2 separate regions of the Homo sapiens genome follow, and region 1 is linked to region 2. Evidence: promoter capture Hi-C in human tissues and cell types (Jung and others, 2019). All regions are on one chromosome and are shown on one strand. Each heading gives the region's core, a stretch centred on a gene start or on the middle of the fragment in contact. The rest is flanking DNA. Distances are from core to core; before and after follow the strand shown.

The links. The method cuts DNA at HindIII sites, captures the fragments that hold promoters and counts their contacts. A contact is called where the count stands out against the background at its distance.
Region 1: the fragment with the promoter of KRT81 here is called in contact with a fragment that was not itself captured in region 2 in 2 of the 25 tissues and cell types used here (neural progenitor cells and small bowel).

What each region holds. Positions count from the first base shown.
Region 1 is chr12:52,289,609-52,292,847 of GRCh38, reverse strand. It overlaps KRT81 (keratin 81), which reads left to right and starts at 1,314. Exons shown (of 9, transcript NM_002281.4): 1 at 1,314-1,751; 2 at 2,562-2,770. The coding sequence starts at 1,383. The region is part of intron 2 of KRT86 (keratin 86); the gene reads right to left. The HindIII fragment of the contact is 10,526 bases long and covers 1-3,239 here.
Region 2 is chr12:52,241,317-52,244,774 of GRCh38, reverse strand. It overlaps KRT7 (keratin 7), which reads right to left. Exons shown (of 9, transcript NM_005556.4): 5 at 3,139-3,303; 6 at 1,638-1,763. Among named protein-coding and RNA genes, the nearest start is that of KRT7-AS, 4.4 kb to the left of the region's middle. RefSeq lists enhancers at 1-85, 136-565, 959-1,934. The HindIII fragment of the contact is 8,834 bases long and covers 1-3,458 here.

The sequences.
Region 1 (3,239 bases), core at 65-2,564, 49 kb before region 2:
AATTTAGCATCACCAATCTGACATTTTATGCTTCCTGGGGTGATATAATAAGAGTTACACAGCATATTTTATGAAGTATTCTGTCCCAACAATGTTTAATTTAAACCTAATCCAGCCTCTAGCCCAGTGCTGTCCAACAGAATTTTATGTGAAAATAAACAATAAATAAAATAAAAATAAATAATAAAGAAGTGTTCTTTATATGCACTGTCTAATAAGGTAGGCACTACTTACAGGTAGCTGCTGAGGACTCAAAATGTGGATAGTGCAACTGAATAACTAGATTTTTAACTTATTTAGTTTTTACTAACTTAAATTTAAGTAGCCACATCTGCCTATTGTCTACCAAATTGGACATCCCAGCTCAAGATTTACTTTCTAATTTATAGAAAATACAAGGGCTAGAGCCACAAATTAAATTATGTAAAATGTAGTTTTAAAATCCTTAGGACAGTTAGGAAAATTGAATCTGAGATGAATAGTAAGTGGTGCTTTGGAATTATTGTTAATTTTCCTGAATAAGAAAATAGTACTCTCCTTATTCTTAAGAAATTCCTGCTGATGTATTTAAGGGTGACATGCCATGCTTTCTGCCACTCAAATAATTGGGCAACTGTGAAAGCAAATATGGTATAATGTTAACTGTTGAATCGGGGTAAACAGGTGGAGCATCAATGCATGTGTGTTGTATTATTCCAATTTTCCTCAATATTTGAAAGCTTTCATCATAAAAAAGATAAAAGACAAATATTTAATAATCTGCTGACTGTTCCCATGGTAGGAAAAGTGAGATGGTTTTCAGCTGCCAACTGAAAAATCTGGAGATGGGGAAATCCAGATTTGTGTTTCAGGAGCACTTTAGCCACAGCTGTGATGGAAATGAGAGATGGTATTTATTAATGCCTCAGCCTTTCCTGAAACCCCTCTCCCCACATCACACTTAACACACAGGTCTCCTCCTCCCAGTTTCTCCCAGCACCTGGCCTCCCTTCTCTTCCCCTCGCCAGGCTCTACTCCTCCTTCTCGTCCTCTCCTCTGCCTTCCCCTTCCCTCCCCAATGCCTGCAGATGAAGGAATGCCCTGCTGGCAAGACACTTTGAAGATGAAACATGCTGACTCCCCCAGAGCCCAAGACTGACATCTTTTACAAAGAAGAGGGTGCAGGCCACTCCCCCATTAAAGCACATTCTGGAGAGGCGTTAGACCCGGCTAACCACCCAAGCCCATAAAGCGCAAATTGCCCCAACATCATCTTCACAGCCAAGCCCCTTCAGAATCTGCGCATAAATAGGGCTGCGGTGCCCTGAGGAGCACATTGGAGTTTCCATCAGGACTCCAGGTCCCCTATCCTGTCCTCTGCAACCCAAACGTCCAGGAGGATCATGACCTGCGGATCAGGATTTGGTGGGCGCGCCTTCAGCTGCATCTCGGCCTGCGGGCCGCGGCCCGGCCGCTGCTGCATCACCGCCGCCCCCTACCGTGGCATCTCCTGCTACCGCGGCCTCACCGGGGGCTTCGGCAGCCACAGCGTGTGCGGAGGCTTTCGGGCCGGCTCCTGCGGACGCAGCTTCGGCTACCGCTCCGGGGGCGTGTGCGGGCCCAGTCCCCCATGCATCACCACCGTGTCGGTCAACGAGAGCCTCCTCACGCCCCTCAACCTGGAGATCGACCCCAACGCGCAGTGCGTGAAGCAGGAGGAGAAGGAGCAGATCAAGTCCCTCAACAGCAGGTTCGCGGCCTTCATCGACAAGGTGGGTGTCCTGGATCACACCCTTCCTGAACCCCCACCACCTACACAGCCAGGGCCGGGCACTAAGGATGGAGTCAGAGGCACAAAGACCTCTGCCTGCCTGAGATCCCAGTCTGATGGGCGAGGCACACAGACACACAGACAGACAGACACATGCACAGACACACACACACAGGCACTCAAGATGCAGACTCAGCTGACAGTTCAGATAGAGGGAGCTTGTGAAGGAAAAGTGTGGCCAGGCTGCTCTGGGGCACAAGCTAGACATCAGGGAGTTGGGGGAGGGGGGCATGTGACCACTGCTGCTGAACTCAGAGGGGTTTGGGCAGCCCCAGGGTGAGAGAGTAGGGTGCACTGACTTCCAGATGACACAGGGGAAGGGCTGGGACAGCTGAGCTCCCTTCCAGATGGCCTGTGACACCCTCTTCCTGGCACCATCCCCAGAAACCTCATCTGTGATCTGAACCTGAGTACTCTGCCTGTGTGGGTTGCTGATCACCTAGTTTCATAGTGAGGGACTGAGCCTCCACTTCTGTTCATCTGCTTGGGTTGGGGGGGGGGGGTCACTCAACTCCCCAGGGAGCAGGCACTGACACCACCCAGCCCTTGCTCCACTCCTGAGTGGGAAATCTAGACACAGATCATGACCAGGAAATCCAGAAATTGTCTGTCTCCCACTGCCCACCTCTACTCAATCTCAGATAAGCTCCAGATTTGGGGGTTCCCATTAAAGCACCTCCCCTGCGAGCCCCCAGAGCTGGCTTTGGGGCACCAGACACCATCTGCCCCACCTTCCCACACCGAATGGCAGGTGCGCTTCCTGGAGCAGCAGAACAAACTGCTGGAGACAAAGCTGCAGTTCTACCAGAACCGCGAGTGTTGCCAGAGCAACCTGGAGCCCCTGTTTGAGGGCTACATCGAGACTCTGCGGCGGGAGGCCGAGTGCGTGGAGGCCGACAGCGGGAGGCTGGCCTCAGAGCTTAACCACGTGCAGGAGGTGCTGGAGGGCTACAAGAAGAAGTGAGTGCGGGCAAGAGGGATGCTGGGCACAGGAATGGGGTTTAGGTTAAATACACTGGATTAGACAATAAGAACTCCCAGGTAGGGTGAGTGGCCATGACCACTAGATTGACCGAGGGTGGCGGGGTCTTTTCCTTTGTGGAATCTTTGCCCAGACACCTGTGTAAGAGGAGGGCTGTGACTCCCATGACCTGTCTCTGTCCCACTTCAGCCTTCTCTCCCTGAACCACATCACCCAGCAGCTCTCCCCTGCGCTGGGTGGGGAGGAAGCCTCTGCAGGGTCCAGGCCTTCTCTCCTGACCCTCAGCCCCTATACTTGTAGCACCTGTCAGATGTGAGCCCAGGGTCTCTCATGAGTGACAGGTCTTGGGCTCTGGGTGTCCCACTGCCTTAGGTTCTAAGTCCTGAGGGTCTGCGGGTCCAGGAGGCCCCATACCTGAGCTGGGATTGATACCAGTGAGGGGAGGCT
Region 2 (3,458 bases), core at 770-3,269:
TGCCTGCCTGGAGCAGCTGCCACTTTCTCCCTGGCCTTAGAGTGCCCTCTGCTTTAGGCTCAGCCCCCACTGCCAGGAGCCTGAATAGTCCCAGGCCTCATCTTGTTTAGCTCAGAAAACCACCATCCCTGTCCCCTGGGCAAGGACTTCTCTCCCTTCTTACCGGCCATTCTCTATCCTCAGATCCTCTTCCCTCAGTGGAGGCAGTCTGCCTCTCTGCCAGAGACAGCATTCCCCAGGAGGCCCTCTGACACTCTGCCCCTCGGCCACAGCTCGGTGCCCTGCCCTGTCACACTGGTGCCCCCAGAGCCAACGCCATCCCCGCTGCCTCTGGAGACCCCTTGTAGCTCCCCATGACGCCCCTCAGTGGTGGTAGACACCTGGCTATAGGCCTGGATCCGCCCTGTTGTGTGAGAGGAGAACCGGATGTAGTAGAGGCTGCAGGGTTTGGGAAACCACCATTTGTTATTCTGTGCTTCCCCTCCTGGCCTGGAAGCTGGCCCACTTCATGGGGTGACTCACGGCCCTGCCTCTGTGCCCCAAGGCAGCCTCCGCCCTCCTGTAAACAGGCCCACAGGGCTCCAAGGGGAGGACATTTGTGGGTAAATCACCCTCACATCCCCCCACCACCCACAGCTCATCTGGAAATCAGCTTTCCGAAGCTTCCACATGTGTGCCCTCCCCCTCTCTCCACTGCAGACACCTGCACAGGCTGAGCTGCCCTGGCCACACACTACTCAGCCAGGGCTGGGGGCCCTTCCCCCATCAACACCTCCAACCCCAGCTTCCAGCAAAGCTCATCCTCCCAGGCAGTCTCTCATCTGAGACCCGTGCCCCTGCCATGTGCCAGGTGCTGGAAGAGAGGAGCAGTGAACCAGACAGACAGGGTCCCTGCTCTCCAGGCATCTGTTATATTCCAGTGGAGGTAGGGACCATCAATCACTTAATGAATAAGACAGAACATTTCAGAGAGTGACAGGGGCTTCAAAGAACTTCAGACAGGCTGCCGATAGAGGGGCTGGTGTTTGAGAGTGCCGTCTCTGAGAAGGGGTCTTTTCCTAAACCCCAGGGAGGAGAAAACAACAACCATGGACAGAGCTGGGAGAACCACATTCCAGGGGGAGGCAACGCCAAGTGCAAAGGCCCTGAAGCATGACCATTCTTGGCAAATGCAAGATGCAGGAAGCAGGTTAGCATGGCCAGAGCAGAGTGAGGGGAATCGTGGAAAGTGAGGTTGGAGTGGGTGGGAAAGGGCCATGTGAGTCATTATAAGGTCTTCTGCTGTCCTCTGTCCCTGCAATGAATGATGAGCTCCCAGGGACAGCGCCCTGCAGCCAGAACCAGGTGCAAGCAGAGTGCTCAGTATCAATGTGGAACCAGTGGTGGCTTTCTTCTGGCCAGCCAGCCTGAGTCTCCCTCCACAGGCTCTGTGCACATCCAGGACCTTTCTCCCATCAGCCCATGCCAGGACCTGGCCAAGAACATTCTGTGCTGGAGATCTCACAAGGGGGTCTGAGACAGTGGCACCAGCTTTGGCCGGGAGATGGGAACCTCCTGCTCCACATCCTGAGTTTGGCCTCAGCTGGCCACCCCTGCATGCCCCAAGTAGCAGGGGAAGCCAGGAGGACTTGTCCCACCTGGTTCTTGATGTTGTCGATCTCAGCCTGCAGCCTCTGGATGGCCCGGTTCATCTCTGAAATCTCATTCCGGGTATTCCGGAGGTCGTCCCCATGCTTCCCAGCCTGGGCCTGGAGGGTCTCAAACTGGAGGGGCCATACAGAGAGTTATGGCAGAGAGATGGGCAGTGAGTACAGGTAACTCATCCCTCTCCCCACCCAAGGCCCCTCCCAACTTATATTTTCAGGGAAGGACAGTCTGACTCCCATCAACCTTTGCCCGATGCCAGGAGACCAGACAGCAGTGTGAGGAAGGGATTCATTCTCCTCCAAGCCAGGCAGGGAGGACAGACAAGGCTCCGCAGTCCCATCCCCATGGACCCCAGGGCTCTTCCACTCCCACCATGCCCTTCTGCTGGAGAATCACTGAGAGTTTGAGATTCGCACCCATTCAACACCCAGAACACCCATTTCACAGGTGAGGAGAGTGAGTCTTGGAGAAGAGAAAGCACCACCCAGGGATCACACAGCCAATCAGTGATGGAACGAGGGCCTGAACCCAGGTCTTCTTGTTGGCATACTTGTGTTCTCACCCAGGCACCATGAATGACTCTCTATCTCTGCAGGGGCAGACCTCTCAATCCTTGCCTCGGGATCCCTTCTTCAGGAACACTGGTTCACCCCAGCACCCACTCCTGCTCCCTCAGCCCCTGCACCATCAACTGTCCTGCCACCATGAAGTAGATGTGATGATTAAGCCTCCCAGGTCTAGGGCCCTCACATTCAGGATTTAGTCCCTGCTCTTCCATCTACTAGCTGTATGCAGTTAGGCAAATTACTTAACCTCTCTGTGCCTCAATTTCCTCATCTTTAAATGGGGGTAATAGGCTGGGTGCGGTGTCTCACGCCTATAATCCCAGCACTTTGGGAGGCCGAGGCAGGTGGATCACCTGAGGTCAGGAGTTTGAGACCAGCCTGGCCAGCATGGTGAAACCTCGTCTCTACTCAAAATACAAAAAAAATTAGCCAGGCATGGTGGTGCACACCTGTAGTCCCAGCTACTCAGGAGGCTGAGGCACGAGGATCACATGAACCAGGGAGGCAAAGGTTGCAGTGAGCCAAGATCGCACCACTGCACTTCAGCCTGGGTGACAGAGCAAGACTCCATCTCAAAAAATAGAAATAAAATAAATTAAATTAAATAAAACAAAATGGGGGTAATAATGATGCCTATCTAATAGGGCTGTTCTGTGGATTACATGAGTCAATAATTACATGAGCCTAGTACTGTGTAAGTACTTGCCATATTTTAGCTATTATAATGATTAATCCATATCTATTTCCTCTGCCCTGTCCTCCCATCTTGGGATTTTCTCCAGGGCTGAGCACCACAGACTTAAACCACTGGTGCCTGCCAGAACAGTGGGACCCAGGCCCTGAAGGCTTGAGACAAGTTGAGGAGTAAGGGAAGCTGCCACCAAGGACCCTGGCAGGAGGAAATACGCCCCTGGTGGCCTCACACCTTGGTCTGGTACCAGGCTTCAGCCTCAGCCCGGCTGCATTTGGCCATCTCCTCATACTGCGCCTTGACCTCAGCGATGATGCCGTCCAGGTCCAGGGAGCGACTGTTGTCCATGGACAGCACCACAGATGTGTCGGAGATCTGGGACTGCAGCTCTGTCAACTCCTGTAGGGACCAGACGGGACATCAGGACTTAGGGCAGGATCCTATGCCCACGCCCACCCTGGGATTCCCCACTCACAAAGGAAAGAAAAGAGAGAACAGCTGGGAGTGGGCTGAGTCACCAGGCAGCAAGGGGGCCCAGACCCAGCACACATTAA